Linked DNA regions of Homo sapiens: regions 1 and 2 are each linked to region 3. The links are contacts of gene promoters, found by promoter capture Hi-C in human tissues and cell types (Jung and others, 2019). All regions are on one chromosome and are shown on one strand. The core of a region is centred on a gene start or on the middle of the fragment in contact, and the rest is flanking DNA. Distances in the headings are between cores, read along the strand shown. Region 1 overlaps ARHGEF7 (Rho guanine nucleotide exchange factor 7). Region 2 overlaps ARHGEF7 (Rho guanine nucleotide exchange factor 7). Region 3 holds the start of ARHGEF7 (Rho guanine nucleotide exchange factor 7).

Region 1 (4,615 bases), core at 1,691-4,190, 110 kb after region 3:
TAATTGTTCTATTTCATTATTAGTTGTTGTTAATCCATTATTGTACCTAATTTCCAGATTAAACACACATAGGTATGTATAGATGGGAAAACATAGTATATATAGGGTTGGTATATATACAGAGATATAGCTGCAGTTTCAGACATCCAGTGGGCAGTCTTGTGGGTACCCCCGTGGATAAGGGTGGGCGGCTATATTGCATTTTTTCCAGTAGTTTATGTGGCTTTCTGATTTTGGAATTAGGTTTCCTTTTTTGAAGAGTGTGTTAAATGTATTTTGATTTATAGTTAATTAGTGCTTGATTTTTCTGAAAACAAAATTGTGCCAGGTTCCAAACTTAGAGACTTCTCTGACCATCATGTTAGGATCATTTCTTTATTCATGAAAACACTGACTTCCTTTAAATTGAGGGTTTCTCTTCTGAATTATATTTTAATTTGATGTACAAATAGTTTTACTGAGTAAACAAGAACTGAAGTTTTTCTCTAAATGGCACTTTTTTAGGCTGTTTATCTCCAGATAAATTGACCAGATGGTCCAATTCACCTCTCCTGCTTCCCTGGGGAAGTGTAGCCATTGGTGGTTTGCCCTCTTGTGGTCGGAGATGGAATTGTTCTTGTCAAGGTTCACCGTTGTGTTGGTGCTTTTAACCTGTGGTGTAGGATTTCTTGTTTGAATAGTCCCTCTTTGAAGACAGATAAAATGTTCTAGGATTCTGTAATAACGATCTTTCTAATGCTTGTGTCAAAAGCATTGTATATTATTCCTGAATATGTACAGTACAGTCTTATGGAAGGTAAATAATTGTCACTTAGCATTTATTTTCTGTGCACCTTTTTTGGTTAGGTAAAACCCATGGATTTCTATAGCATTTTTTTTTTTTTTTTGAGACAGAGTCTTGCTCTGTTGCCCAGGCTGGAGTGCAGTGGCATAATCTCAGCTCACTGCAACCTCCACCTCCTGGGTTCAAGCGATTCTCCTACCCCAGCCTCCCAAGTAGCTGGGATTACAGGTGCCCGCCACCACGCCCGGCTAATTTGTGTATTTTTAGTAGAGACAGGGTTTCACCATGTCAGCCAGGCTGGCCTCGAACACCTGACCTTGTCATCTGCCCGCCTCAGCCTCCCAAAGTGCTGGGATTACAGGCATGAGCCACCGCAGCCAGCGTCTACAGCATTTTTTACAGGCTGATATGTATTTGTGTTTCACACCCACCCACCCACCCTCACTCTTACTCCCTTGCTTCAGAATTTCCTAAATTCAAGGGAGAAGTTAAGGAGAGAAGCAGCAAGGTCCATTCTGGAAGTGAGTGGTGATGGTGGTTGCTGTGATTGGATAGAAGTGGAGGCACTCAGCTGCATGTGGCACACACGGTTAGCAGCTGTGAGAACACACCTCGTGCTCTGTGTGCTTCCAAGACCAGTTTTCTGTGTGTGCATGTGGACTCAGGCTTTTTTAGATGATTATTTCTAATGTGCTGACTTTAGTCATTCTCCTATTTCTGGACAGCTTATTATCTGTTGTAAAGACATTTCTTTTAAATGCTGTTTTGGGGGCTGGTTAGCTTGAGATGATGACTGTCTGTGTTTGGCAGTGATGTGAGAGCTTAAATGGGACTGTCATTTGCTGATCCACAGATCTTTAACGACATTGCCACTTTTTAAGTTGGTCACTTTTAAATATTTTTTACTTATTTTTGACATAAAGCAACACGCAGCTGAATTTTGGATGTCGTTATTAATTTAGCTGTGGAGGAACAGTGTTTGATGTGAGTATAATCTGTGCGGGGAAAAGGACAAAAGTACCCCAGAACCTTGCCTTCCTTCGTGCCACTGGATGTGAGCTTGTGCTGTAGTCCTTCCTCCTCTCCGGTGAGGATTGGGTTTGGATGGGACACATGAGGCTGCATTACAGGATGGACCTCTCAGCACTATTGTTTCAAGATGTAATTGTTTTTAAACAAGAGAGAAGAACATAAATTAGAAGATATGGGCCCCCCGAGGCAGGCGTAGGGAGCGTATTATAGCATTATGTACAAAGGGGTCTTGGAGTAGATGGTTTGGAAATGTTTCTGGCGTGTGAAAGTGAATATTTTCCTAGATTGGTATACCGAGCATGTCCTCACTGCAATGTGGCTGCCTCCCGTTGTCGGTGATGATTACACATCTTCCGTTTCAGGAGCACGTCCCATAGACCAGCTGACTTAGAGTAATTAGGGGTCAGGTTGTTAGTCTTCCAGTATTAGAGCTTCTCTTTTTTAAAAAAGTTTTATTTGCATTTATGCTTAAGTAATTGTATTACTTACATGCCACATGCTTGTAGCATGTGATAGCCAGTAGACGGAAGAGCTCATGTGGGGAAGAGCACAGGCCACCCACTCCCACAGCCCTGATCCAGGGAGAGGCGTTACTCACCTCCTCTCCTCTCCTACGTAGCTGCCTCGCAACTCTTCACAGTATGCAGAGACTTCTCTGCTTAGATTTATAGGGCGTATCTCACTTTATTGCACTTTGCTTGTTTTTTTGTTTTTTTTTTTTTCTCTTACAAATGGAAGGCTTGTGGCAACACTGTTGGTGCCATTTTTCCAGCACCATGTGCCCACTTGTCCCAGTGCTTCATTTGGGTAATTCTTGCACGATTTCACAGCTTTTCATTATTGTATCCGTTATGGTGATCTGTGATCAGGGACCTTTGGTGTTACTGTTAGAATTGTTTTGGGGTGCCATGAACCATGCCCATGTAAGATGGCAGACTTAATTGATAAATGTTGTGTGTATTCTGACTGCCCTACTGACCGGGAATTCCCCATGTTTTTCCCCAGGCCACTCATTCCCTGAGACACAAAAATACTGAAATTAAACCAGTTTATAACCTTACTATGGCCTCTTAAGTGTTCAAATGAAAGGAAGAGTTGCATGTCTCTCACTTTAAATAAAAAGCTAGAAACGATTAACCTTAGTGAGGAAGGCATGTAGAAAGGTGAGACAGGCTGAAAGCTAGGCCTGTTGCACCAGTCAGTCGTGAATACAAATGAAAAGCTCTTGAAGGAAATTATAAGTGCTACTCCAGTGAACACATGAATGATAAGCAATGAAACCACCTTATTGCTGATATGGAGAAAGTTTGAGTGGTGTGGATAGAAGATCAAACCAGCCACAACATTTCCTTAAGGGCAAAGCCTAATCTCTTCAATTCTATGAAGACTGAGAGGTGAGGAAGCTGCAGAAAAAGAGTTTGAAGCTAATGGAGGTTAGTGCATGAGGTTGAAGGAAAGAAGCCGTCTCCAGAACATGATGAAAGTGCAGGGTGAAGCAGCACGTGCTGACGGAGAAGCTGCAGCAAGTCATCCAGAAGATCTAGCTGACATCATCGGTGAAGGTGGCCACACCAACAGGCTGACTCTCTGGTCTGGGGTTAATGTAGCTGGTGACTGAGTTGAAGCCAATTCTCATTTACCATTCTGAAAATCCTAGTACCCTTAAGAATTATGCTTAACCAACTTTGCCTCTCTGCGCTGTAAGTTAGAACAACAAAGCCTGGATGGTGGCACATCTGCTTGTGTCATGGTTTGCTGAATATTTTAAGCCCACTTTAGAGACCTCCCACTCAGGAAAAAAAGATTCCCTTGAGCATGTTACTGCTTATTGACAGTGTACCTAATCACCCAAGAGCTTTGAGGGAGACATACAAAGAAATTAATGTTGTTTTCATGCTGCTAACACAGCATCCATACTGCAGCTCATGGGTCAAGGATTAATTTAGATTTTTGGGTCTTAGCATTTAAGGAATACATTTTGTAAGGCCATAAATAGTGGTTCCTCTAATGGATCTAGGCAAAGTAATTTGAAAACCTTCTGGAAAGGATTTACCCCTTTAGATGCTGTTAAGAACATTTGTGATTTATGGGAGGAGGTTAAAATATCAACATCAACAGGAGTTTGGAAGACATTGATTCTAACCCTGATGGATGACCTTAGGGCCTCAGGACTTCAGTTTAGGAAGGAACTACCTGTGTGGTGGGAACAGCAAGAGAACTAAAATTGGAAGTGGAGCCTGGAGATGTGACTGAACTGCTGCAGTCTCATGAGAAAACTTGAATGGATGAAGAGTTGCTCCTTATGGCTGAGCAAAGAATGTGGTTTCTTGAAATAGAATCTACCCTTGCTGAAGTGCCGTGAACATTGTTGAAATAACAAAAGATTTAGACTGTTGCAAAAAGTTAGTTGATAAAGTGGTAGCAGGGTTTGAGAAGATTGACTCTTAATTTTGTAAGAAGTTGTATGTGTGTAAAATGCTACCAAATAGCATCTCACGCTCCAGAGAAATCTTTCATGAAAGGAAGAATCAGTTGATACTGGCACACTTCATTGTCTTGTTTCAAGAAGTGTCCATAGCCACCGCAGCCTTCTGCAGCCACTGATCAGTCAGCAGCCATCCATATCAAGGCAAGACCCTCTACAAAGAGATTACAGCTTGCTGAAGGCTCAGATGATTGTTAGCATTTTTTTAGAAACTTTTTTTTTAACTAAGGAATGTACTTTTTTTAAAGACAGTGCAATTGCAAACTTAATAGACTACAGTATAGTGTAAACATAGCTTTTATATGCAGTAGGAA
Region 2 (3,981 bases), core at 417-2,916, 71 kb after region 3:
GGGGGAGATGTGTCTTCTCCATCTTTTTGGGAGTCATAGGTCAGTTCTCTTTGTGCTATGCTGTTATTTCCTATCAGGTGTGGCCTTGATGGGTTCTTCCTGTTTGTGAATAAAAGCCCAGTTGACTGGCATCAGAGCGGAGGGGACTGTGCAGTCCTGTGTGTGGGTTACCGGCCCCGTGGGCTTCACTGTGCGGGTTGTGTGTCTGGGAGCAGGTGGGGAGAACCGGATGGAGGGCTCTAGAAGCAGCTACACGAGCAGAGCTGAGGGAGACACTTTCTCTGCACCTGTTTCCTGTGTCACACTTCAGATGGGGGATAGTCCAGGCTGGTGGTGGAGCTCCCAGGGGATTTCGCTTCTGGGTAGAATTGTCATTTTTTTTTTTCCTCAGAGACTGTTGTGTGGGCCTAGTGGTGCATCAGGTTCCGGTTAGAATCCAGTGCAGGCCGCAGGCTTCTCTTTAATTAGAGAGGGTCACTTCACCTCCGGTTAGAATCCAGTGCAGGCAGCAGCTTCTTTTTAATTAGAGAGGGGTCTGGGTGCTGAGCTTCCCATCAGGAAGAAGGGGCTGTCGTGCTGAAGTCCTGAGGTGGGTCACGTGTCCCTTCCTGTGTTAGAAAACCGTCTTTGGTGCTCCTGGGGCTCCCTTACAAGTGCTGTTCTGAACTGTTAGGTCATTCAGAGTCCATCTGCGTCCTGTCCCCAGGGATCTCCTCAAACCCTGTTTAGACTGCTCATAGCCTTTCCCTTTTTAGCACTACAGCGGGTTCTTTCTCTGTTAATTTTTTGAAGCTTTTTCTTTCTCTCATTTCGGTGGCACCTTGGGAGGGATGGGAGTTAGATAGGTGTTTGCAGTGGGCCATCTTGAGAAACTTCTCAAAACTGGAGTCTTGTAACTGCTTGCATTTTGAAGTTAATGGAATGGGCGCATTGCCTTTATAGCTGTAAATGTTACTGCTTCACTTACTGTTAGCCCAAGCCAGTGTGTTGCATCTGCCCAGATCCTTCTTTGTGGTATGTGCTCACTTTCTGGCGACAGCCAGGCTGTTCTTTGCAGGCATGTGCTCCTAGCAGTCGAAGACAGAAGTTTGGGGGCCTGTGTAGGCTGTATGGGCTGCTGTGTGTGTGTACGTGGTGAGTTGTGTCTGAGACCACCCCTCCTCCCCTGGGTGCTGCCTGATCTGCCTGCATGACCGCTGTGGGACACCACTGTCTCTGGTGTCCTTTCCTGGCTGGCAGTGTGGTGGTGTGGGCAAAGCCAGGCTGGTGGGCTCCGATCTTGGTTCTGCCTTTGTAAGCTTTGTCACACTGTCTTTTGGGAGCTCGTGTGTGTGTGTGTGTGTGTGTGTGTGTGTGTGTGTGTGTGTGTTTTCGTTTTCTGCCTGTAAGATAAACTGGCATGCAGTCTACACTGAGGTACGGGCTGTGTGGGCCAGCACAGCATGCCGTGGTCCTAAGCAGGGAGGTGTCCTTCCTTTCCCCTGCCTGTTGGGGCTGCGCTTCCCTGCCTCGTGTGGAGGTTGCGCCCGGTCTGCAGAAGGCAGAGAGCATCTTGTTGGGAAGAGCCCTGCCTGCCTTCCCGTTGCTGTGCTCCTGCCTCCCTGCTCTGCTCCTCTCACCCCTTCCTGGAAACTACCTAAAATACTTGGTTACTTCTTTTTTGAAGATGTATTCTCTGTCCTAGTGTTTGGGTGTTGATACAGTGGAATCCACAAAATTGAATAAGATTTGATTTTCATTTTAAAGTGAAATAAATCATTTGGGTGCATGTTGGGTGAAAGTGCCGTAATTGATAGCATCCGTCATCAGACTTTAATTTTACCCCTGGGGTGTAGGAGTGGGTGGGATTAAGTACAAAATCTGCAGAAGCCAGGAAGTGAAAACGTACTGCTGGATTTCTGTTTTTCACATGTCCCCAACAATATGGACCATTTGCATTAAACTTAAATAGCACCACTTATTTAAGATTCATTTTTTACTCTTGTTCTGAAATCACAAGTTCCATTTGACAGTGATAGGACAAAATTATATTTTTAAACTTTGCAAACCACACTCCAGAGCTGTGCTAAAAATAACAATTTCTTGTGTCAAGAATAACTTTCTCAAGTTCCTGGAGGAGGCGAGCTGACTGGTGGCAACGCAGACCACTAAAGCTTCAGTGAGCCCAGAAAGTGTGCGCTCAGTCCCACATTGCAGAGGCCTCTCCGTCAGTATTGAGATGGTGGAAAGTGAGGAGAAGCAAAAAGACGACTACTTCTTTCCCCATTTCCCGGTCTGGTCTTTTTGGGGTCTACTACGTAGAGGTGCATCAGCCAGCGCTACCATGGAGGCAGGAGGCATTCTTTTGCTCTCGTGTCAGTACTGACGGGGTTGATTAAGGTTGCTGTGCTTGTTGGTGTGGGTATTGGGAGGGTGGTGTGAAAGCAGTTGGGCTGGAATAGAGCTGGTCAGTGTGTCCTTTTGCGTGCATTTGTGTGGCCCTAGTGCTACAGTGGTGTCCCTTAGCTCTGGGGGACTGTCTGAATTTTTGTGCTCTAAATTATTAATACATGTTTATGTGTGGGTTTGCCAGAATGCTGTGTCCGTTATTGTTGGCTCCTTGGACAGCTCTCCTTGTTCTGCTTCACTGGCTGTGAAATTGGTTCACGTGGTGGGCTCTGGGTCCAGCGAGATGCATCTGAGGTGTTGACCTGGTGGTGTGGGCCTGGGGCTGCCAGTGGTCCTGTTGCCTGATGAGGGAGACCGTTCCTGAAACTGTGGCGCACACTCAGGAGAGTAGGAAAGAGAGCGGAGAAAGCCTTCCGGTTCTGAGCTTGTGGCTCTTGCCATTCCTGACTTGTTTGTTGTGCGAACCAATAATTTCCTTTTTTTGTTTAAGCCAATTTGAGTTGGGTTTACTTGCTTGTAGTGGAAAGGTTCTGACACAGGATCTTTATTATATGAAGTATTTTCATAATGTACATTGTGTTATATATTAGACATATCACACGATCTATTTTGTGATGTAGTTTGCTTTGCTGTTTTTATTCTGTGGAAGATATTCCTGAATTTCTACACTTCCTATGAATTTGGAAGTGGGGTGAGGCAAAGTCACTAATATCGGGGTATCAGTAGGGGAGCCTTTCGAATCCCAAACATTGGAGTGTCCTTCTGTGACCCGTTTCTTTGTCAACTTTTGTCCGCTAGGCAGAGTGGCTGTGACATCTGACATCCAGTGTGAAGGTGTGGTCACTCAGCTGGAAGAGAAAAACCTAGCACTCTGAGAGTGGGTGGATCTGCTGGTGATTTTCAAGCAATGTCTTCCCGTTTTTGGATGCTCATCCCTTCTGTAGTTGGAGCCTTGTTCTCTTTTCCTTGAGTACAGGTGGGGCTGATGACTCATTTCTTATGAACCGAGCACAGCCTGCCTGACTGCTGAGGCTAGCTCATAGGATTCCTGAAGCTGCAGGCCCTGCTTTCCTTCCTGCGTGTGCCCTGGGATCACTCGCTCTGTGGAGTCCGTTGTCCGTTCTCTGAGGACTCAGGAACTGAGGCCTCCTGCTCACAGCCACGCTGTGGAGCTGTCTTGGTAGCACCTCCTCAGTCCCTGCAAGGCCTTAGGCTGCCAGAATCCCACAGCTTCAGCTGACATCTCAACGACCTCCCCTGAGACCCAGAGCCACATTCACCCAGCTAAGCTGCCCTGAACGCTGACACGCAGAAACTGAGATAACAGATGCTTGTTGTTTGGGCCACTGAGTTTTAGAGTGAGTTGCCTGTAGAAATGGATGAGCAGCATCTGTGCCTGGAGGTGAAGGGTGGAGCCAAGTGCATGTCTGTCAGAGTCCACTGCTATCCATCCTTTCCCTGCCTGCCTTCCTCCTACACGGTGCTGGATCCCCCAGAGGATCAGCAGCCGAGAGGCTTCTGCGAAAGAATGTGCTCCTTCAGGGCCGACTTGCATTTGTGTCTTTTTTTCTTGGAGATTTCTGTAAAACAGCA
Region 3 (4,231 bases), core at 1,182-3,681:
GCAGATACAATGAGCTGCATAGAGCCACTTCGTAGTGCATTCTCCAATCTAGACAGGGTCCAGTTGGATAAGGGTAGTTCTACAGGGAGTGATTACTACCCACTCTAGGTAAATGGTCATCTGATTGTCCAGCTTAAGTTTGGAGTGAATTTTGCCTTATTTTTTAGATTTTGGCATTTTTATAGTGACCCCACACACGCTGAGTTGGCAGGGTTCAGCTGAGCTTTGGGTGGTAACTGGTTTGCAGTAGGGTTTGTGCGTGAACTCCTAACAGTGATGTGGAAGGTGCCTACCAGGCACTAGCAAGCAGCCAAGCTGGGTGTGAGGCTGACATTCTCTCATTAGAAACGAAGGAAGCGAAGCCACAGGCTTGCGTGGAAAGCCATTCTCCACCTCTTGAGGCAAGTCCAGAGGAGAGCCACAGAAAGGGCTAAACTTCCCCTTAGACAATAGTCTTAACTCGAGCTAACCCAATAGCCCAAAAGTGATGGGCACCAGATTGCACTCCGCGTGGCCTCTGTAATAGGAACCTGGAAAAGTGCTAAGGAAAGTTTAACCAAAATGCCCACTTTGGATACTAAAACAACTCAATTAAGCACCTAAAAATATCTAGCTTTGAGCAATGTTACTTTCTAAAATCCCTTCCAAGTAAACTCTTTTTCTGAAATTAATAAATACCCAACATAAAAGAACGCAACTAGTAACCATAAAGTGTTTAAAAGTCTGGGCTTCTCCCCACCAAGAAAAGACGAGTTGTAATACCTGGACTGTGGGTCTCCAGTCCGACAAGAATTGGCTCTCTGCTTCACTGGTCTCGTAAGGTCACTCCCTAGAATTGGCTTTCTATAGGACCATTTAATTGAGTCTATTTGAATCTTACTCAAGTCTACCACCTTATAAGTATCAAACCGAATTTAGTAGGATTCGAAATGGTAAGGACTGCATTAAATTATTTCTCTAATTCAGCAGTAAGGAAAGTGAACAGAAGTCTCGGTGTACAACCACGCCCCGGGTTGACATCTTTCCTTCCACGAAGACACTGGGTACAAGCCTTGATGTAGCTGTTAATTGCCCTCCTGTTTCCTAGAAAGCTTATAGGGCAGCAGTAGGAAACGGGTTAGGTATGCCTTTCCTGGTAGGAGCCGAGCTTTGGGTCTTATCTCTGCCACTTGTTCGGCATCTGATCAGTAAAAGGGGACCATGATGGGAGGCGAGGCAGTAGACAGCACTTTGTGACGGTTCCTAACCAGTCGCTGTTATCACTGAGCACATTGTCCTCGTAATCCAGAATTCATACTGCCATTTGAATATTTTTTGTATTTGCAAAGAAAATTTTAACCACTTAACTCAAGGCTAGAAATAAAAGCAATTAGTGATTGCAAGAGAAATCCACCGGCAGAAGGCAGGGGGAGACGACTTAAGCCTCTGATTATTTTTGGAAGCTTTATATGCTTTCTAGCCTTTGTCATTGAATGGATTAATGTATGTGCCTGGCATAGACTAAGTGCTTTGCTTGTTAAACTGCCCGCGGGTCATAGCGAGCAAACTGGGGGAGCGCCCAGGGACAGTGGATGGAGTGAGTGGAGACTCGTGTCCTTTTAAGAAGAGGCTCCATTTCTTCCTCGCATGTCAATGTGTGCGTGTCATCAGTTGTTCGAGGAAGCTCGCGCATGACGCGACACTTGCCGTCTGGGCTCTCCAGGTTCGGCCTGCTGCTTTCACAGCCCAGATCTTCGGCGTCCCCGAGACGCAGCCAGGCGCCCGGCCCGGCCCGGCCCGGCCCTCTGCACAGCCCCACTTCAGGCCACGCCGTTTCCTTGACCTTCCCCCGGCAGGGTCTGAAGCGTCACCGTCCGTCTAGAGCAGAGTCGCGCAGGCCCCTGCCCTGCCGGTGAGGTCGGCGCCGCGCTCCGGAGAGTCGGTTCCTCCCGATTCAGACCCATATGGCTTCAGATGGAACCATCATTTCTGTTCCGTCATGACCGGCTTGCAAGGTAGCAAAGCGAAACAAACGTCTCGTTTTCAGCCTGTCCCCGCCACCTTGAAATAAAACCGGCAAAAATAAAAAGAGCATTCTGGGAAGTACTTCATCATTTCAACGCTCACGAATTCAAAACATAAACAAAGGCTTCCGAGTGCCCCGGCCAGGGGCGCGGGGCGCACGGCGGGCCCGGGGCAGGTAAGCGCAGGTGCGCGCCCGCCCCCACCCCCGGCTCCCTCCCCATCCGCTCCCCGCTCCCCTTCCCCTTTCCCTTCCCCGCCCGCTCCCAGCCGCCGCCGCCGCCCCGCGCACGGCCTGGAGCGGAGGCTGCGCAGGGCGCGGGGCGGCGCGGGCCGGGCGCGGGCCGGGCGGACGGCCGCGTCTTTCTTCTCCTGGCGGTGATGTCATTGGGCGACGGCGGCCGAGGCCGGGGGGCGGCGGCGGGCGCCCGCAGGTTCCCGAGCCGCTCCTGAGAAGGCGCCTGACAGCGGGCCGGGGCGCACGGAGAAGCGGGCCGGGCCGGACCTGCTGGGCCGCGCCGAGCCAATCGCCGGCGCCGGCCGCTCGATGGGCGAGGCGGCGGCGGCGGCGGCGGGGGCCGCGGGCCGGGCCGCCGCTCCGAGGTGAAGGCGCGCGCCCCTCCCCGCCTGCCTCCCGGGCCGCAGCGATGAATTCCGCCGAGCAAACCGTTACGTGGCTCATCACTCTGGGGGTGCTGGAGTCGCCCAAAAAAACCATCTCGGACCCGGAGGGCTTTCTGCAGGCGTCGCTGAAGGATGGGGTGGTCCTCTGCAGGCTGCTGGAGCGCCTGCTCCCCGGGACCATCGAGAAAGTAAGTCCCGGCCCGCGCCCCCGCCCGCGCCCCCCGGTCCGGCCCGCTGCGGCCCGGGATGCGCGCGGAGCACCTGAGGCCGGCCGCGCTCGGGAAACCCGTGCGCCCTCCTTTGTGCGCGGAGCGGCGGCGCGGCCGGCGCCAGGACCGTGGCGGGAGCTCGGGGGGCGCCATTGTGTGCGGGGCAGGGGGAGGGGGCCGGGGAGCGGGGTCGGGGGGAGGGGCGGCGCGGGCGGCGGGGGTCCCCGGGAAGGAGAGTGCACCGCAGCGAGGAGACGGGGCTTCTGCGCCGCCCGAACGCTAAGTTGCCCCTCCGCGTGGGGGGCCGGCCCCGCTCCCTGGCAGCAGCCGCATCGGAAACCGCGTTCCGACGCGGTGCGGCTCACTCCGCTGGCTTTGTGTGGACAGTTCTTGCCGGTGGCGTTGCGTGAGTTTCGCCTCCCAGGTTAATTGACCGGTTGCTCTGTATTTTTAAAGAGGCACGCATCTGTAGCTGAGGGCTGCGCTGTGAAACGATCTACTACTTTCCCCTCGAGAAAATTCCCCACCTATCCGAGCCGAGAGGACGGCAGACACAGGGTCTAAGTCCTGGCACTCTTCAAGGCTTGTTAAAATTCTAGATTTCGTTCTCAGGTCCCTCCCTCGTTCTGAACAGAACCTTTAGTCCTGCAGGCACTGCTTCTCCCTTCCGGCTGGTGGTTCCCAGGCTGGAGCGTGTGAACCCTGACCCGAATCTCTGGAAGTGATTAAAGTTTGTTTTCATCGCCCACAAGCCGGCCAGCAGGGCCGAGGAGGCAGGAGAGTTTCTAAAAACGATGTCTCCCTGTAGCTCAAAATACTAAAATCTTATTCCCAGGGTGTTTCTTCGGGGGGTGGGGTGGGGGTGGGGGTGGCCAATATATAGCGTTAAGATCAACAGTTATTTAAAAGGTGTTAAATATAGAAATTGAAGTGTACCATAATTAGGAAGAAGGATTTCAGTTTTTAAGTGGGGTGTATTGGCCCCCATACAGGATGACAACAACTTGTAAATAAAATGCCACGTAAGTGACTTGAAAAAGTAAAATGTTTAATTTTTTTCATTCACATGTACATATTCTCTTGCTACATTTTAAATGAGGTCAGAAAACATTTTATTTAATATGAATTTGGCTTGCATTCCACTTTTAGCTATTTTTCTTACTTGGAACATCTTTATGAAAACAGAATCTGCATATTAGAGTGAATGGCTGCCTGCCTGTCCATGAAATAAAAATGTTCCTTAAAAATGAACCTGATGTCACAGTGAAATTATGATTTAAGACAGGAGGACTGAGGAGCAGGAGCTGACTTTCAAGGCATTCAAAATACTTTGCTGTTTGGATACTGGTACCTCTGGTAATGAAAGACAGATGTTGAAAAGTGTTGAAATGCATGCA

What was found. The method cuts DNA at HindIII sites, captures the fragments that hold promoters and counts their contacts. A contact is called where the count stands out against the background at its distance.
Region 1: a fragment that was not itself captured here is called in contact with the fragment with the promoter of ARHGEF7 in region 3 in 2 of the 25 tissues and cell types used here (heart right ventricle and spleen).
Region 2: a contact is called between a fragment that was not itself captured here and the fragment with the promoter of ARHGEF7 in region 3, in 4 of the 25 tissues and cell types used here (aorta, dorsolateral prefrontal cortex, heart right ventricle and 1 more).

What each region holds. Positions count from the first base shown.
Region 1 is chr13:111,222,988-111,227,602 of GRCh38, forward strand. The region is part of intron 5 of ARHGEF7 (Rho guanine nucleotide exchange factor 7); the gene reads left to right. Among named protein-coding and RNA genes, the nearest start is that of ARHGEF7-AS1, 77 kb to the left of the region's middle. The HindIII fragment of the contact is 8,988 bases long and covers 1-4,615 here.
Region 2 is chr13:111,184,637-111,188,617 of GRCh38, forward strand. The region is part of intron 2 of ARHGEF7 (Rho guanine nucleotide exchange factor 7); the gene reads left to right. Among named protein-coding and RNA genes, the nearest start is that of ARHGEF7-AS1, 38 kb to the left of the region's middle. RefSeq lists enhancers at 104-233, 334-593. The HindIII fragment of the contact is 3,787 bases long and covers 1-3,560 here.
Region 3 is chr13:111,112,879-111,117,109 of GRCh38, forward strand. ARHGEF7 (Rho guanine nucleotide exchange factor 7) reads left to right here and starts at 2,432. Exons shown (of 22, transcript NM_001354046.2): 1 at 2,432-2,813. The coding sequence starts at 2,649. It overlaps ARHGEF7-AS2 (ARHGEF7 antisense RNA 2), which reads right to left and starts at 2,800. Exons shown (of 2, transcript NR_046667.1): 1 at 2,669-2,800; 2 at 934-2,040. RefSeq lists a silencer at 2,305-2,394. The HindIII fragment of the contact is 8,096 bases long and covers 1,267-4,231 here.